4 separate regions of the Homo sapiens genome follow, and regions 1, 2 and 3 are each linked to region 4. The links are contacts of gene promoters, found by promoter capture Hi-C in blood cells and fetal thymus (Javierre and others, 2016). All regions are on one chromosome and are shown on one strand. Each heading gives the region's core, a stretch centred on a gene start or on the middle of the fragment in contact. The rest is flanking DNA. Distances are from core to core; before and after follow the strand shown.

Region 1 (4,732 bases), core at 2,214-4,713, 310 kb after region 4:
CAGGAGGCTGAGGCAGGAGAATCATTTGAGCCCGGGAGGCAGAGGTTGCAGTGAGCCGAGATCACACCACTGCACCCCAGCCTGGGTGACAGATTGAGACTGTCTCAAATAAATAAATAAAAAATTAAGTGGCTATTTAAAAACTTTAATTACAGGGATTTTTAGTAAAGAGTGTTTTGTTGGGCATATTGCACCCAGCTAAAAGACTGCATTTCCTAGACTCATGCAGCCCTTCTGTGGCTAAGTCTGACGGGTGAGATGTATATAGAAGCATAGTGTAGTGCTTCTGGGAGGAAGGGGGCCTCCCTTCCAGCAAAATGGTGATAGTAAAAGCAATATAATCTTGGCTGGGCATGGTGGCTCACTCCTGCAATCCCAGCACTTTGGGAGGCCGAGGCGGGCGGATCACGAGGTCAGGAGATCGAGACCATCCCGGCTAAAACGGTGAAACCCCGTCTCTACTAAAAATACAAAAAATTAGCCGGGCGTAGTGGCGGGCGCCTGTAGTCCCAGCTACTTGGGAGGCTGAGGCAGGAGAATGGCGTGAACCCGGGAGGCAGAGCTTGCAGTGAGCCGAGATCCCGCCACTGCACTCCAGCCTGGGCGACAGAGTGAGACTCCGACTCAAAAAAAAAAAAAAAAAAAATTTAAAAATTAGCTGGGTATGTGGCGTACACCTGTAGAAAACCCAGCTGCTTGGCAGGTTGAGGTGGGAGGTTTCCTTGAGCCCAGGAGGTTGCTGCAGTGAGCTGTGATCATACCACTGCACTCCAGCCTGGGTGACAGAGAGAGACCCTGTCTCTAAGGGAAAAAAAAAAAAAAAAAAATCTTGTTCAAGCTACTACTATTTTGAGATTTTTCAAATCCAAATTGACACAGATGAGAAGAGTAAAAAATAATCTCAGGCTAAGGGACTTGGCTAGGGATCCCTTCTCTTTCCACTTTTTCCATCCCCCATACACAGGCCTACAACTCCCCTCTCTTCCCAAACCCTCCCTTCACAACACACAAACCAGTCTGCACACAGCCTTATAAATATTGATTTTATAGAAAGGACCAATTCAAAATTGGTCAGATGCCACACGCTAGAAGCTTCCAGAACCACGATGGAAAGAAAAAAAAGAAAACAAAAAACAGAGAGAACAAACAAAAATACCCCAGACCAAAATGCCTGAAAAATCAAGGTCCTGGTTGACCAAAGGATTCTTAAAGAAACATGTGGCTGGGGTGAGGAGACCCCAATGCCTGAACGAGACCCCAGAGTGGAAGGAAAAACAACCCAGAAATGCAAATCCGAAGTCCCTGCCCACGGGGCCCCCCCACGCTGTCAAAAGCGAGGCAAAGGGCTTCACAGCTTTATGGGGGTGGGGTTGATGGCAGTAGCTTAAATAATAACGGGAGGAGGAGGGTTTTTATACTTCAGCTTTTTTTTTGTCTGCCCCCCTCTTCCTCTACGCGGAAGAGGAGAGACTGGTAGCTTGAGGTTAAGGAGAAAACAGTATTTCCCCCCCACTTCTTTAATAGGCAAACCATCTAGAAATGGACTGTCATAAAAAAATGCCAGATCCCACCTGTGACCTGACAGCCCCCAATTCCTAGAGAGGTGAGAGCTGTCGTGTGGCAGGTTAGGAGAGGTGCCAACCTTGGGCGATGCGGCTTCTTGGGAAATAACAGCTCCAGCGAGAAAGAATTGGGGTGAGGGAGAGGATGGGGGCCAGAATGGGGGGACCCTTAAGTGGTACCAAAATTAGCTGCCGTCTGCTCCCTGCTGGTGGGTCCTTGGGGTGGAAAGCATGGCAGGGAGGGGGTTGGGGCTGAATGGAGAAGAAAGTGAGATGCTGATAAAAAAAAAAAAAACACCCTTCTCAGAGGGTCCACGGCCCTGGTTCTGAAGAGTAGAAAATCAACAGGATCAAGCAGAGGGCTTTCCTGGGTCACCCCTGCTGAACCCCAGCTCAGTTCCGGTGAGGGATCAATGCTGCCTGGAGTAGGGGAATGGGCAGGCGGCCCAGTCCGGACCCTCGGCTCCCGGGGGGAGAGGGGAGGGGTGGGCGTGGTGGGCTCTCCCCTCCCCTCCCCCGGCTTCACCTCCCCTCCTCCCGGCCGGCCCGGCCCCCGCCTGGCCCATTGCAGGGCAGCACCCAGTTGTTATCGTGGAGGCCCAGGCGGCAGCCGGGAGTCTCGCGGTCGGCTCGACGGCAGCACATCCAGTAGGAACGTCCGTAAGGCAGGTCATGGTGGTAGGGCTTGGGGTGCCAGCGGCAGAGCGACACGTCGCCCTTCTCGTATCTCTTGCGGCACTGTTTGCACGGATCATCGCGGTAGAGCGGGTCTCGGCTCCAGCGCGAGTCTGTGGCCCGCACGCCAAACGCCTCGATGATGCCCTTGAAGTGGTGGCAGGTGCACTTGAGGGCGGCCAGCGCGCGCGTGGGCAGGAAGCTGAAGATCTTGACCAGCACGTGCTCGGGCAGCAGCAGCATGTACTGTCGCGGCTCCAGCAGCCGCTGAATCTTGAAGCGGATCTCTAGGAAGTCGTGCGACACGTGCCGGTACAAGCGGCACAGGGAGGTGTCCGCCGTGCCCTCGGCATCGTCTGGGCCGGGCGCAGTGGCCGGGGAGTCGGCCGGGGGTGGCTCCGGGGGCCCGTCCGGCCCGCGGTTCTGGAGAAAGAAGAGCTGGCCCGGAGGCGGCGGTTCCTCCGGGCTGACCGTCAGGCACACAGTCTCCTCCTTCACGTTCTTGGTGCCGTCCTTGCCAAAGAAGATGCACTCATCTACCACGCCCGTCACCACCACGTCCACGTGGAAGCCTGACGCTCCGCAGTCCCGGGCAGGGGGCGGAGGGGGCGCCGGGGGAGTGTCCTCAGGCCTGGCGGGTGCCGGGCTGTCACCCTCACTGGCCTCATCCGCCCTGGCCAGCAGGAACTCCACGTTGCTGGGGAGGGCATCCCGCGAGGGGCTGATGAGCTGGTATAAGTCACATGTGATCTTGTCCTTGGCTCGGGCCCCAGGACCTGGGCTGCCAGGGTAGGCACAACCAGGCCTGCCCCCGCCCCCACTGGGCAGGCCGCTGTCTGGTGCACGGGGCTCCCGGCCGTTGGAGATGCGGAAGGCGATGCGCACCTCCCCAGGGCCTGGCCCGGGCCGCTCTTCCTTGCGGAGGCCCTTGGTGGGAGGGCTGTCCCTCTGCGCTTCAAAGTGGGCCACGGCCTCGGCTACACGGCTGCAGTCCCCACCACCGGACCGCCGTTCAGATCCCACCCCCTTGGCCGGTCCACCTTGCTCGGCGGACACAAAGACTACAGGCGCTGGGGTGGTCGGTCGTGGGTAGCTCTGCAGGGCCAGGGCTGCCCGCTGTTCCACCAGGGCCACCATCTCGGCCACAGAGAGCAGGTCCACGTCCTCACCGGCTGAGGCGGGGCCCTCCTCAGCAGCAGGGGGGCCCTCCCGGCCCCCTGGGTCAGGAGGAGCCTTGGTGGGGTCAAGACAGCGCCTCCGCCGCTTGGCCTTGGAGCTATCGCTGCCCCAGTGCCCCTTGACCTTCATGGAGCTGGCCCGGCTGCCCCCACCACACTGGTGGGCCACAAAGAAGGCCACCTTCTCCTTTGTATTCCCGGGCTTGATGACATACCACGTGTCCAGGAGGACTCGACCCTCATCACCAGCAGCTGCTGCTGAGAGGAGCGGAGCCGGCTGGGAGGCAGGGACCTCAGTGGCCAAGGCGGGTGGTGTGTTCTCTGAGTGGGCAGGCCCATGGTCTGGCTCGGCCCCGCCACCAGGCTCAGGGCAGGCTGATGGCTTGAGGGCCGCAGAAGGCGGGCGTGGCTGGTTCTGTGAGTAGGTGCCAAAGGGCCGGGGGCACCATAGCTGGAAGGGCAGGAGGCTCCCACGGTCCATGCTGGGGGATGATGGCAGACAGGCTGGGCTTCAGCGCATCTCAGGACCTAGGTGGTGGTGGGAGGCTCCACATGCCACCTGGAGACACGAAGAGGAGGTTGGGGAGCTAGGGGGACAGCCTTTCTTCCCAGGACCACCCCAACCTCCACCTCTCCTTAGACCAAACCAGACCATCAAGAACTCTATTCCTGGCTGGGCGCGGTGGCTCACGCCTGTAATCCCAGCACTTTGGGAGGCTGAGGTGGGCAGATCACCTGAGGTCAGGAGTTTGAGACCAGCCTGGCCAACATGGTGATACCCCATCTCTACTAAAAATACAAAAATGTGCTGGGCGTGATAGTCCACGCCTGTAATCCAAGCTACTTGGGAGGCTGAGGCACGAGAATCGCTTGAACCTGGGAGGTGGAGGTTGCAGCGAGACCAGATGGCACCATTACACTCCAGCCTGGGCGACAAGAGCGAAACTCCGTCTCAAAAAAAAAAAAAAAAAAAAAAAGAACTCTATTCCCACTGCCATGCTCAGGTGAGCAGACAGAGGTTGCAGAGGGGATGAGAGATGCCCTTTTAACTTGCAGAGCGGGACCCTAACTGGCAGCACGCACCAACCCCATAGGTCCTACCCCACTGTCCAACTGCCTTTGCCCACAATCCAGAGGCCTTTAAACTGCCATAACTTTTACACTTAAGTGAAAGGACCACTGACAGACAAGGTCCTTTTTCTATTTGCTCACTCAGTAGCTCGTTCCTGAAAAGACAGAAATTCCCAGCCCCACCCACAGCTATGGCTGCTTAAACCCACAGAGAGAGGAACGAAATGCGCTGGGATGGGGATGAAA
Region 2 (4,701 bases), core at 549-3,048, 290 kb after region 4:
CAGTGGTTCACACCTCTAATCCCAGCACTTTGGGAGGCCGAGACAGGCAGATCCCTCGAGATCAGGAGTTTGAGACCAGCCTGGCCAACATGGTGAAACCTCATCTCTACTAAAAATACAAAATTAGCCAGGCGTGGTGGTGGGTACCCGTAGTCCCAGCTACTTGGGAGGCTGAGGCACGAGAATCACTTGAACCCAGGAGGCGGAGACTGCAGTGAGCTGAGATTGCGCCACTGCACCCCAGCATGGGTGACAGAGCGAGACTCCATCTCAAAAAAAAAAAGTCACTTAAATACTGCCTGAGTCCCAATGCTACCTCATCCACTTAGATTGTGACCTTGGACTGGTTTCTTTTTTATTTTATTTTATTTTATTTTATTTTGAGATGGAGTCTCACACTGTCGCCTGGGTTGGAGTGCAGTGGCGCGATCTCGGCTCACTGCAACCTCCACCTCCCAGGTTCAAGCAAATCTCATGCTTCAGCCTCCTGAGTAGCTGGGATTACAGGTGTGCACCACCATGCCTGGCTAATTTTTTGTATTTTTAGTGAGACGGGGTTTCACCATATTGGCCAGGCTGGTCTCAAACTCCTGACCTTATGATCCGCCCACCTCAGCCTCCCAAAGTGCTGGGATTACAGGCGTGAGCCACCGCGCCCGGCCTGGACTAGTTTCTTAACCTCTCTGAGCCCATTTCCTCATCTGTAAAATGGGGTCATGTATTGGCAGTCCCTCCCCTAAATGGTTCCTAGAAGAGGGCTTAGCACACAGTGAGAGCTATTTAAGGGTAAGCTGTGATGAGTCTTGCTGGCTTCAAGAGGTGGGGTCTCCCCAACATCTGGCACCCAGTAGGTACTCACCAGCACTGTCAAGGGAATGATTTTAATCAGAGTAGGGGGCTGGGCACAGTGGCTCACATCTGTAATCCCAACACTTTGGGATGCTGAAGCAGGCAGATCACTTGAGGTCAGGAGTTCGAATACCAGGCTGGCCAACATTGTGAAACCCCATCTCTACTAAAAATACAAAAAATAGCCAGGCGTTGTAGGGGGCGCCTGTAACCCCAGCTACTCAGGAGGCTGAGTCAGGAGAATCACTTGAAGCCAGGAGGCAGAGGTTGCAGTGAGCCAAGATCAAGCCACTGCACTCCAGCCTGGGTGACAGAGCAAGACTCCATCTCAAAAAAAAAAAGAAAGAAAGAAAGAAATCCATTCAATCAGAGTGGGGCTTTAGTGTCAACCCATCTGCTCTGCATGGCTCAGGTCACGTGGCCCTTCTCCCCACCTCCTCCCCAGTCCCCGTCCACCCTCCCACCTCTCTCTTGCCGCTAGTTCCTGGAGGCCACGCTGCGGTCCCTGACAGCAGGTTGGCACGTGGAGCTGGATCCCTTCACAGCCTCAACACCCCTGGGGCCAGTGGACTTTGGCAATGTGGTGGCCACACTGGACCCAAGGGCTGCCCGTCACCTCACCCTTGCCTGCCATTATGACTCGAAGCTCTTCCCACCCGGATCGACCCCCTTTGTAGGGGCCACGGATTCGGCTGTGCCCTGTGCCCTGCTGCTGGAGCTGGCCCAAGCACTTGACCTGGAGCTGAGCAGGGCCAAAAAACAGGTGAGGAGCAGGAGTCGGGGAGGGTAGTGGGCTACCTCCACCTTTTCCCAAGCCCCCACCCTCCCTTGCCTGGACATTTGTCATCCCTCTCGTCTTCCCACTCTACTCCACGCACAGAGCCACAGGGATCTTTTTTTTTTTTTTGAGACGGAGTTTCGCTCTTGTTCCCCAGGATGGAGTGCACATGGCGAGATCTTGGCTCCCCGCAACCTCTGCCTACTGGGTTCAAGCAATTCTCCTCCCAACCTCAGGTGATCTGCCCACCTCGGCCTCTCAAAGTGCTGGGATTACAGGCGTGAGCCACCGCGCCTGGTCATCACAGGGATCTTTTTACCTTCTAGATGTCAGATTCTCTTTCCTCTCCCCCAAACCCTCCCAGGGCTCCCGCCTCATTCCAGCCATAATCCAGAGTCCTTATATTGGCCCACGAGCTGTGCCCTGTTACCTCTCCAGCCTCATCTCCCACCCCTCACCTCTTGCTCACTCTGCTGTAGCCACCCCCACCTCCTCTGGGTTCCTCAAACCCGCAGAGCTTGCTCCCACCTCAGGGCATCTGCACTTGCTGTTTGCTTTGGATAGAATGTGCTTTTCTGGCCAGGCTCCGTGGCTCACACTTGGAATCCCAGCACTTTGGGAGGTTGAGGTGGGTGGATCACAAGGTCAGGAGTTCAAGACCAGCCTGGCCAACATGATGAAACCCCATCTCTACCAAAAACACAAAAATTAGCCAGGCTTGGTGGTGCACACCTGTAACCCCAGCTACTCGGGAGGCTGAAGCAGAGAATTGCTTGAACCCGGGAGGCGGAGGTTGCAGTGAGCCAAAGTTGCACCACTGCACTCCAGCCTGGGCAACAGAGCGAGACTCCATCTCAAAAAAAAAAAAAAATTATCTGGGAGTAGTGGCATGCTACTTGGGAGGCTGAGAGGGGAGGATGGCTTGAGTCTAGGAGTTTGAGACTGCAGTGAGCCATGATCGTGCCACTGTATTCTAGCCTGGGTGACAGAGACCTTGTCTCTTAAAAAAAAAAAAAAGAATATGCTTTTCATAGATATCTTCCTGGCTGGCTCCCACTCTTCACTCAGGTGTCCACTCCAATGTCACCCCTTCAAAGAGGCCTTCCCGGCCGGGCGTGGTAACTCGCACCTGTAATCCCAGCACTTTGGGAGGCCGAGGCAGGCAGATCATTTGAGGTCAGAAGTTCGAGCCCAGCTTGTCCAACAGGGAAACCTCATCTCTACTAAAAATACAAAAATTAGCTGGGTATGGTGGTACATACCTGTAATCCTACTACTTGGGAGGTTGAGACAGGAGGATCACTTGAAACTGAGAGGCGGAGGTTGCAGTGAGCCGAGATCGCACCACTGCACTCCAGCCTGGATGACAGAGCGAGATTCTGTCTCAAAACAAACAGAAAAGAAAAACACAGGCCAGGTGCGGTGGCTCACACCTGTAATCCCAGCACTTTGGGAGGCCAAGGCAGGTGGATCGTGAGGTCAGGAGATTGAGACCATCCTGGCTAACACAGTGAAACCCCGTCTCTACTAAAAATACAAAAAGTTAGCTGGGCGTGGTGGCGGGCGCCTGTAGTCCCAGCTACTTGGGAGGCTGAGGCAGGAGAATGGCGTGAACTCGGGAGGCAGAGTTTGCAGTGAGCCGAGATCGCGCCACTGTACGCCAGCCTGGGCGATACAGCGAGACTCCGTCTCAAAAAAAAAAAAAAGAAAGAAAAAAAAGAAAAGAAAAGAAAAACACAGATTTAATCATGCTCCTGCCCTGCTTAACCCCTCTCTGTGCCTCCCCAGTGTCCCTATAACAAAGCCCACACTCCTTGGCCCTTGCTAAACCTTCCGTACCCCTCTCAAACCTCTGGGACCCCTTCCCTGGCCATAGCCTTGCCCTGTGTTGCTCCCTTGGCTGGGAATACTCTTCCTCCTGCTCCATTTTGCCAGGCCAGTTCCTACCCATTCTCATGGCAAACATCCCTTCCCAAAAGACCCAACGCCCTCTCCAGGCCAGGTCATCCCCCAGCCTCCTTCCTATGCCCTCTCAGGACTCTATAGTTCTTAGAAGCATTTGTCTCAACTGCATTTCACTGTTTGTATAATTATTCATTTGTGGATCTATCTGGTTCACCAAACTGAGCTTGAGGAATAATAATCAGAGATAACCCTTATTTAGTTATATGCCAGGCACTGTTCTAAGACCTGGATTCAAACCTTACCCTTTGAAAAGAACTGTTATTGCCGGGCGCGGTGGCTCACATCTGTAATCCCAGCACTTTGGGAGGCTGAGGTAGGTGGATCATTTGAGGTCAGGAGTTCGAGACCAGCCTGGCCAACATGGTGAAAGCTTGTCTCTACTAAAAATACAAAAATTAGCCAGGCATGATAGCGGGAACCTGTGGTCACAGCTGTATGGGAGGCTGAGGCAGGAGAATCTCTTGAACCTGGGAGGTAGGGGGTGGAGGTTGCAGTGAGTCAAGATTGCATCATTCCACTCCAGCCTGGGTGACAGAGCAAGATTTATTCTAAAAAAAACAAAAAACAAAAAAAAAACAAAAAACCTCTTATTAACCCCATTTATAGATGAAGAAACTGATCCTTCCAGAAGTTAGTAACTTCCCCATGCCTGCTTTGTTATGAAGCAGCCAAGTACGGATTTGATCCCAGACAACTGACTCGGAATCTGTGCTCTTGGCTACCACGTTCTATGAGTGAGGACACCTTATGTGTTCTCTTAAGCATGCAAGCGGGCAAGAAGTGTGGGTATGTTGAGGCTGAGGGCTAGTCCTGAGCTGGCTCTGGCCACCCCCCTGCTGCTCCCACAGGCAGCCCCGGTGACCCTGCAACTGCTCTTCTTGGATGGTGAAGAGGCGCTGAAGGAGTGGGGACCCAAGGACTCCCTTTACGGTTCCCGGCACCTGGCCCAGCTCATGGAGTCTATACCTCACAGCCCCGGCCCCACCAGGATCCAGGCTATTGTAAGACCAGGGTCCCCTGGCTTCTGGCGAGGGAGGGAGCAGGTTAAGCAGGGCTGGCGTCATCCTGCACGGGCCCCTCCAGTCCTAGCCTTTCTCCTTAGGAGCTCT
Region 3 (4,406 bases), core at 655-3,154, 290 kb before region 4:
AATGATTGAATGAATAGTATTTGCATGTGGGTGCCTTGATGTTAAGATGGTGTCTTGTTTTAGCGAGCGTTCTTTTGACTACTAGTTAACTTCGGTTTTGTTTGTTTGTTTTGTATTTTTGTGGGTTTTTTTTTTTTTTTAATGGAGTTTCACTCTTGTTGCCCAGGCTGGAGTGCAATGGCGCGATCTCAGGTCATCACAACTTCCGCCTCCCAGGTTCAAGCGATTCTCCTGCCACAGCCTCCCGAGTAGCTGGGATTACAGGCATGCACCACCACACCCGGCTAATTTTGTATGTTTTGTAGAGACAGGATTTCTCCATGTTGGTCAGGCTGGTCTGTAACTCCCGACCTCAGGTGATCCACGCGCCTTGGCCTCCCAAAGTCTGGGATGACAGGCGTGAACTACCGTGCCTGGTCTTTTTTGTTTTTTGTAGAGATGAGGTCTCGCTATGTTGCCCAGGATGGTCTCGAACTCCTGGCCTCAAGTGATCCTCCTGTCTTGGCCTCCCAAAGTGCTGGGATTACAGGCATGAGCCACTGCGCCCGACCTAACCTGTTTATTGTTAACATGTTACATGGTTCTGGGAATTGGTTCTTCATGCCCTTTGCCTATTTTTATTTTGGGACCTTTATAAGGACTCCTCTATTGAAGATAGATGTAATTTTATTGTGCAGATATATTTGTCCTCATTTATCATTTGCCTTGCAGGAAAGGTGGGGGACAGGGGTGCAGGACACTAAAGAGAAGCACTTTCTCCTCTGCTATTTCACCGAGTCATCATAGCAAAGCCCCATCTCAGTGTGAACAGCTTGGGATGGAGAAACACAGGGCTGGGGCCCTCAGAGAGGGCAGAGGAGGCAGTGGCAGCCCAGGCCTTGGAGGCCCTGCAGTGTAGGAGAGAGGGTGCTTTAGTGGAGGCCCGGCCTGGGAAAAGGGTTAGCAGGTTACAGAGGGTCCACTGTAACCACAACTCCAGCCCCATTTGCTGAGCACCAGGCTGAGTGACTCGGTGAACCTGCTGGTGCCCCACATTTTTGCAGATAAGAAACTGCTACTTGGGGTCATTGGTCACTTGCTGAAGATGGCAGAAGCCAGGGCAGCCCTGCCTGGGTCCCTGGACACATCCAGCCCACCACAGCTATGGAGGCTCAGCAAGTCCCAGGAGCCTCAAGTTTCAGCAGGAGCCTGGACTCCCTCGTCTCCCACAGCCATGGCCACCACGTCATCAGCACCCTCTGTATGAGGGTCCTGTATGTCATGTGCTGTTTCCTTCCAGTAGCTTCCTGACTCTTCAGGAATACTGTTCTTTGCCCTGAGGATCTGTCGCCCACCTGCATCTGCAGCCTCAGCTCTGCTCCCCCTCTGCCCTGTTGGAGGGTCCTCAGAACCGACTCTTCCCTCTGTCTGGAAGGATGGCCTGGACTTTTGTGTGGCTCCTGTTGGCTTATGGCCTCCTGTCCCCATCCAGTGTAAGCTTCTTGAGATGGGATGTCTGGCTTTTTTGTTCACCAGTGTAGCCTGGCACCTAGAATAGTGCCTGGCATAGAATAGACAACAATAAATATTTGAAGGAATTAATGAATTCCCTTTTTCTTTTTTTTTTTTTTGTTGAGACAGAGTCTTGCTCTGTCTCCCAGGTTGCAGTGCTGTGGCGTGGTCATGGCTCACTGCAGTCTAGATCTCCTGGGCCCAGGTGATCCTCCCGCCTCAGCCTTCTGAGTAGCTGGGACCACAGGCACGTACCACTACACCTGGCTAATTTTTGGATTTTTTGTAGAGACGGGGTTTCCCTGTGTTGCCCAGGCTAGTCTTAAATTCCTGGGCTCAAGTGATCCTCCTGCCTTGGCCTCCGAGAGTGCTGGGATTACAGCCATGAGCCATTGCACCTGGCCACATTTCTTACTTTTACTCATCTTTTAGGTCTCAGTCGAAATGTTCTTTTCTCTTATGGGTCTTTTCTAACTATTCCTCCAAATCTGAATTTGTATCCCCTGTGTTTTCCCCTATAATATGCATTTTCTTCTTATAACTGGTAAATTTTTGGGTGATTTGTTTGCCTTCCTCCCAGTCCTTGAGGGCAGGGACCAGCCCTGTTTTGTTCACGGCTGTCTGCCTAGCCCAGGTTGTTGCATAAAGAATGAATGAATGAAAATATGTTCATTAGTTCCCAAACAGACCTCTGAGGGTTGGTGGCATTACCCTCTTGTTATGAAGGAGGAAGGTGAGGGTGGGCAGTAAGAAATTCCAAGCACCTGGTTTCCATCACTGGAGCCTTTGCTGGACCAGTAAACAGCTTACAGTTTCTAAAATTCCAATCTAAAGCACTCCCAAAGCTTCTGAATTCAGATGGCCATCTGGTACCCATGACCAGAAGCCTGAGGCAGGTGGCCCGAAATAGCCTGCCTGGTTCTGGCAGGACTGAATGTCTACCGATGAGTGCTGGGCTTTCCTCAGAGGCCCCCTTTCCCGAGCCTGGCCCTGTCACCTACTGAGGACTTGGGTGGGTGGCAGTGCTAGGAAGCATTGAGCCACTAAATGACTCAGCAAACCCTTGTCAAGCACCTCGGTGCCCCCAGCTCTGCTGAGTCCTCTGCCGGATTGTCTTGCCTGTATGCTCATTTGACCCTGACAGTGATCTTCAGTTCCCCAAGGCTCCAAGAGCTCTGTCTCCTCTGAGCCTTTGCACATGCTGTTCTGTCTGTTGCAACACTCTTCTCCCTCCCTTCTGCTTTTTAATTATTATTATTATTATTATTATTATTTTTAATTGAGACAGAGTCTTACTCTGTCACCCAGGCTGGAGTGCAGTGGTGCAATCTCGGCTCACCACAACTTCTGCCTCCCGGGTTCAAGCAATTCTCCAGCCACAGCCTCCTGAGTAGCTGGGATTACAAGTGCGCACCACCACACCCAGCTAACTTTTGTATTTTTTTAGTAGAGACAAGGTTTTGCCTTGTTGGCCAGGCTGGTCTCGAATCCCGACCTCAGGTGATCCGCCTGCCTCGATCTCCCAAAGTACTGGGATTACAGGCATGGGCCACCTTGCCCAGCCCATTTATCTTCTTGGCATATGGAATATGTATGTAATGTACATGTAAGTTGTTGAAGTGTAATATGTTGAAGACCTGTGAGCCTCCCTCCTAATTTCAGAGTGAGAACATTGCCATTAACTCACCTCTGCCTGTGGGTGGGTGGAGGGAGCCCACTGTCCTGACTGTTGTCATTGTCATTCTGTGTTTTTTATTTTTTGCGGGGGGCGGGGGTGGATGGGTGAGGGACAGGTGTGTCAGGTTCAATAAAAAGGGAAAGGGTCATCAGGTGGCCTTTTTAAAAGTTTTATCAACCATGTCTGCATGCTGAAAAGCATGGTGTTTCGTTCTGCCTGTTTTTGAGTTTCATAAACATGGTATTGTGAGGAAATTCCTGGGTCTTGGTTTTTCTTTTCTTTCTTTTTTTTTTTCTTTTGAGACAGTCTCGCTCTGTCGTCCAGGCTGGAGTGCAGTGGCATAATCTTGGCTCACTACAACCTCTGCATCCTGAATTCAGGCGATTCTCCTGCCTCAGCCTCCCAAATCCCAGCTGGGATTACAGGCTCCTGCCACCACACCTGGCTAACTTTTTTGTATTTTTAGTAGAGACAGGGTTTCACCATGTCTGTCAGGCTGGTCTTGGAACTCCTGACCTCAAGTGATCCGCCCGCCTCTGCCTCCCAAAGTGTTGGGATTACAGGCATGGATTCCTTCTGATACATTTCACCTGGAGTGCTGGGATGACAGGCGTGGGATTACCTTCTGATACATTTCACCTGGGGCGTGAGCAAGACTTTCGCTAGAGTCTGGAGCTAGGAACAGAATGGCTGGTCATAGTTGATGAGTACATTTGGCTTCTCAAGGTAATGCCAATCTTTCTGAAGTGGCTCTCGCCACCTTTTACCTGACTGACTCCTGCTTGTTCTCCAAGAGTCTCCTTCCTGGCTGTCTTTCCTTCAGCACCTACTTAGGGGAGCAGCAGCTGTGTGCCTAGTGTAGTTATGTTCTGGGGGGCAATGCGAACAAGACTCACAGTCCCTGCCCTCTAGTGGCCAGTGGTGTTAGATGGTCCCTCTTTCAGGACGCCCCCAACCCCAAGTCTGGGTTAGGGGTTTCCTTTGCCCCAGCTCTACCTACTCTGGCTTGTCACTGTCTAGGGATGGGTCTGCCTTCCCGACTGGACCAGGACTCCTGTGTGGACAGAGACCAGGATTAGGGTTGTCTTGGACGCTGTTTCCAGCATGACCCTGCCCGGGGCACAGAGCAGGTGCTGGGTGAAGCAGGTGCTGGGTGAAGCAGGTACTGTTGAGCTTGAGGCAGTTGGGGTCAAGAGGAAGAAATGGATTCTAGTATCCAGGACTTTCTGGAGTAGGA
Region 4 (4,154 bases), core at 1,531-4,030:
GTTAGGCTGGTCTCGAACTCCTAGCCTCATGGGATCCTCCCCGGCTCGATCTCCCAAAGTATTGGGATTACAGGCGTGAGCCACGGCGCCATGATCCCCAAATTTCCAAGATTCTCAGATTCCATACTGACATTCTCTGGCTCTCAGGAAATGCCAACCCTGGGTGTGGGGCTGTCGCGGGGACAGGCGGTGGGGACGTCGGAGCCACCAGGGGGCGGTCACGCCCGGACCCCCGCCAGGAGGGCGGACTGCGCCTGAGCTCAGGCCCGGGGAATGCGCAGCGGGCCCGGGCAGGTGCTGTACATCCCGGGGCAAGGGAGCTGGGCCGGGCGGGGTACAAGGGCGGGGCGCGGGGGTGGCGCGGGCCGTGTGTCTGTTCCCAGGCCTCTGCCCCTGACCTCTGCCTCCGAGTCCTCTCCCATGTGCTCCCCTCTAGCTCTAGCTCCGAGCTCTCCCGCGGGCTCTGGGCCAGCCGCAGGTACTCTCCCCTGGGCTCCTCTCTCCGCTCCACCCCTGGCTCTCCTTCCCTGGCCTCCTCTGCACCCCAGCCAGGTTCTTTAGGGCTAAGGATCCTGTGGACTTCCTGGAGGAGTCATCTTCAGTAGGAACCGGGTCAGAGAGCCAGACTGAGCTGGGAACACCCAGGCTGGACTCCTACAGCCCTGTCGGGTCACACTGAATCTGGAGAGGCTCCACTGTCTCTGGGACTCGGTTTCCTCCTTTGTGGACGTCTATGGAATGGGCTAGGGCCTTTCTTGCTCTAAGCCTCTACTTGGGCTTGTTATTTAGCTTCTCTGTGCCTGTTTCCTCATGTGGACCATGGGAAGAATTAATACCTTCGCCTCAAAGGGGTATGAGGATTGAGTGACATAATTTATAAGCCGTGATTAGAACAATGCAGTGCGCGAAATAAAGTTCACACATACAGGATTCATAATTACCAGATGTCCTTGGCTGTTCATTATAATAACACAGGGTCTGGCAACAGAGTGAGGGGTCCAGACTCAATGTAATTTTTTTTTCCCCTAAAAGGGCCCTTTCAACTCTTTCTGAGATCATACAAGCCCTGAGTTTTGACACCCAGGGTCTCAACTTCCTGAGCCCTTGCCTCTCAGAGTCCTAAATTTCCCCTGTACATTCCTGAGTCTGGCCAGTGATCACCCTCAGTCACTTAGGGACGGGAGGGCTGGGAGAGCCCTGGAAGATTCCAGACAGAAGCTGGCAAAAGCCCAGGGTGTGGGCAATATCCACTCTCCAGCCTCCGTTTCTCCACTCGTAATGAGGAGTCCTTCCCTGGGGTCAGCAAACCTTATTCAAAGGGAGACCTCTCAGTCACCCAAGATTCCTCTAGACAATGCGAGCTTTCCTACCTACCTACCTACCAGCTCTGAGCTTGGTACACCCAGAGCCCTGTTTTGGCAACCACGGTTATTATTTTTAATTTCATTTCAGGTTATCATCAAATGCCCTTCAAGCCCAGACATTGGGAAACACTCCTCTCTCATCAGATGCTCGCCTCCCCCATTCTGTTTTTAATCCCCCTTCTTAGGACGCATGGGGGTGGAGAGAACGGGGAGATAGACAGAGGGAGGTGCCTGGTCCTGCCCTCCCCCCGCCTCAAGGACAGACAGACACCTCCAGAATTAGCCTCTGTCCCTCCCTTATCTCCCACAATACCCCAGGTCAGACAGATGGGCGTGGAGGTGACATTTCTCACCTCAGGGTCAGGGCAAGGAGCCCTGAGGCAGAAGGTTAGTCAGAAAATCTGGCGGGGGCGGATGGAATCCCGTCCCCCAGAGAGCTGCAGAAGAAGGAGGAGGCAGAATCCTGACCCTACAAACTCTACTGCCTGTGTGAGCTCCAAGCCTCAGTTTACCCCTTCCTCTCCGTGTAATGGTTAAATGCCCGGCTATGCAAACCTCCCAGAATCCAATAGCCGCTTTCCGGAATTCTGCCCTGGGTTCTAGAACTACCTCTGCAAACCCAGCTGTTTCCCACCCCATAAGGCAATAGGGGAGCCCACCTCCGCCAGGGGGTGCCCTAGGGCGGATGTCCCTTCTCTGGTTAGGCAGGTCTGACGCCCAGGTTAATGACATGTTGGGTTCGCTCAGCGGCACAGAGGAGGTTGGAGATCTGCCTCGGTGTTTTCTCTCCTACCCCGCCCCCATCCCCGAGCCGAAAAGTCGGGGGAGAGCCGGGACACAGCCTCCGGAGGGACCCCGGGTACCTGTCCTGCTCCACTTCAGGAACCCAGGCTCCACTATCCCTGCCCCACCCTTAATTCTGCTCAGAGACCTAGAAGATCGGTCGAGACAGCAGCTTGAGGCTGGCAGGGTGGTCACCCATTCCACCTTGAGCCCCACCAGTCTGAGCCTCTCATTTCTGACCAAGACTCGGGGATTCGAACCCCTATACTACCCAAAGACTCGGCTTCCTAGAGCCCCCCAGTTCGAGGGACTCAGGAATTCCAGCTCCAACGTCTCCCCGGGATGAAGGGGTAGAATCCCTCCATTCCAAGAATTCAGGCATCCGAACCCGCTTTCCTTCCCTCCAGTAAAACAGGCAACGGAGTTTCCTTCTAAGGATCCAGGTGTCGGCGCGCCCCAAATTCCGCCCTGGGACCTGGCGTCCGAGTCCCCTCCCAATCCTCCCAGGGACGCGGGTGTTGGGCTTTTTCAGGGCCTCTGGTCCCCAGGAGGGTGAAACTCACGGATCCGGGCAGATCCTGGCACCTGGGGGCTTCCTCCAGCTCGGGCTCCGGCTTGGGGAGCGGAGAACGGGGCGGGGCAGGAGCTGGGAACAGGTTAGACGACGTGACTTGGGCTGGAGGGAGGCGGGTCCCGGTGGGGAGGGGGAGCCAAGGTCGCCTCGAGCACCTTGGGACTTGTAGTCCCGGAGGGACAGGACGTAGCCCAAGACGATCCCATTTGGATTCACCCAGAGTCCATTTCACAGACAGGAAGGGCGAGGCCCAGAAGCCGAGAGCGACCAGGCCAGGGAGATACAGAAGAGCCGAGACGCCTGCCTCGCTGTGGCTGGAGACTGACTCCTGAGCCCTTGCCCCACCCCTTCAGGCGCACTATCCCCTTTCCTGATCAGTATCCCCCAGGGTCTCTGAGCCCGAATCTCCCCGTCGATAAAAAGCGCGGGTTGGATCTTCAAAGGATGTCCCAGCAAGAGTTCAAAATCTTAGTTTGGACTACAACCCCCAGCAGCCTCCGCGACCGCCCTCGGGCGACTCTTTGCCTCGGGTCCTGTGGGAATTGTAGTCCTGGAGCCCGCAGGGGCTGCACCCCGGTGTCTCTCTCGCCCACGCGAAGGAAACCGTCTGGAGATCCTGGATAGGGGAAACATTTCCCCTTCCCCTTGACCCTCCCTCCGCTCTGGAAAGCCTCTCCCACCTGGGGAGAAGGGGTGCCCCAATTCTGGAGTAGGATCCTAAATCTTGGCAGAGGGGGCGGGAAGTGGCGCTGACACACTGGCCAGGAATGCAGTCGGGTCACCCTGTCTAGCCACCGTCTCGCGGCTCCAACCGCCGCCCAACGCGGGGCGGCCCCAGTGGGAAGGGAAGTGGGTGCGTCCCCCAAATCTGTGTCCACGTGCCGCTGTTTACACGCTCCCTGGGGCAGGGAGGAGTCGCCGATCAGGTCCCTTCCTGAAAGTCATCGAGGTTTCCCACGCATGAGACTAAACCCCCGAGGGCATCTACAAGTCCCATTTGATCCACAAACGCTACACCGTGCCCAGCACCACTCCACGCGTGTGGGGCTCCTGGGTCCGAGGCTCCGCCCTCGAGAACCACAAGCTCCTCCCCCTATGTTTCCCGCTCCCCCGGAGTCCAGAAGCCCCGCCCCTGGCTGGAACTTCACGCCCTCCGGACGGATTGCCCCTATTTCTCCATTTTCCCGCTTCTCCCAGTCAAGTTCTGAACTTGTGAGGCATCTGGGCCTCCCCAGAAGACATTTAACACAGAAAGCACAGCCCTACTAACTAGTATTCTTACCTGTCTCTTCAAGAATTTCAGACCAATCGACCGTCCTGTCTCTTTAAGGCTTAGGAAGAGCAGTGTGGCTGCCCCTTTAAGGAGGCGTTGCAACAAACCATATTGGACAGACGATGGGGGCGACCCATCGGGACCCGACGGGCCTCTGACT

Evidence for each region. The method cuts DNA at HindIII sites, captures the fragments that hold promoters and counts their contacts. A CHiCAGO score of 5 or more calls a contact.
Region 1: a fragment that was not itself captured here is called in contact with the fragment with the promoter of PPP1R13L in region 4 in 3 of 17 cell types (naive CD4 T cells, monocytes and activated CD4 T cells); the score reaches 6.0 in naive CD4 T cells.
Region 2: a fragment that was not itself captured here is called in contact with the fragment with the promoter of PPP1R13L in region 4 in 4 of 17 cell types (naive CD4 T cells, total CD8 T cells, naive B cells and 1 more); the score reaches 5.9 in naive CD4 T cells.
Region 3: a fragment that was not itself captured here is called in contact with the fragment with the promoter of PPP1R13L in region 4 in 1 of 17 cell types (M1 macrophages); the score reaches 5.1 in M1 macrophages.

Annotation. Positions count from the first base shown.
Region 1 is chr19:45,709,600-45,714,331 of GRCh38, forward strand. It overlaps FBXO46 (F-box protein 46), which reads right to left. Exons shown (of 2, transcript NM_001080469.2): 2 at 1,030-3,974. The coding sequence starts at 3,896. The coding sequence ends at 2,085. Among named protein-coding and RNA genes, the nearest start is that of FBXO46, 19 kb to the right of the region's middle. The HindIII fragment of the contact is 4,746 bases long and covers 1,091-4,732 here.
Region 2 is chr19:45,694,107-45,698,807 of GRCh38, forward strand. It overlaps QPCTL (glutaminyl-peptide cyclotransferase like), which reads left to right. Exons shown (of 7, transcript NM_017659.4): 3 at 1,331-1,612; 4 at 4,441-4,593; 5 at 4,695-4,701. Among named protein-coding and RNA genes, the nearest start is that of QPCTL, 3.8 kb to the left of the region's middle. The HindIII fragment of the contact is 4,323 bases long and covers 1-3,960 here.
Region 3 is chr19:45,108,521-45,112,926 of GRCh38, forward strand. All of the region lies in intron 1 of PPP1R37 (protein phosphatase 1 regulatory subunit 37), which reads left to right. Among named protein-coding and RNA genes, the nearest start is that of PPP1R37, 18 kb to the left of the region's middle. The HindIII fragment of the contact is 859 bases long and covers 1,476-2,334 here.
Region 4 is chr19:45,402,289-45,406,442 of GRCh38, forward strand. PPP1R13L (protein phosphatase 1 regulatory subunit 13 like) reads right to left here and starts at 2,781. Exons shown (of 13, transcript NM_006663.4): 1 at 2,711-2,781. RefSeq lists silencers at 128-377, 418-507 and enhancers at 2,667-3,462, 3,433-3,632. The HindIII fragment of the contact is 7,528 bases long and covers 1-4,154 here.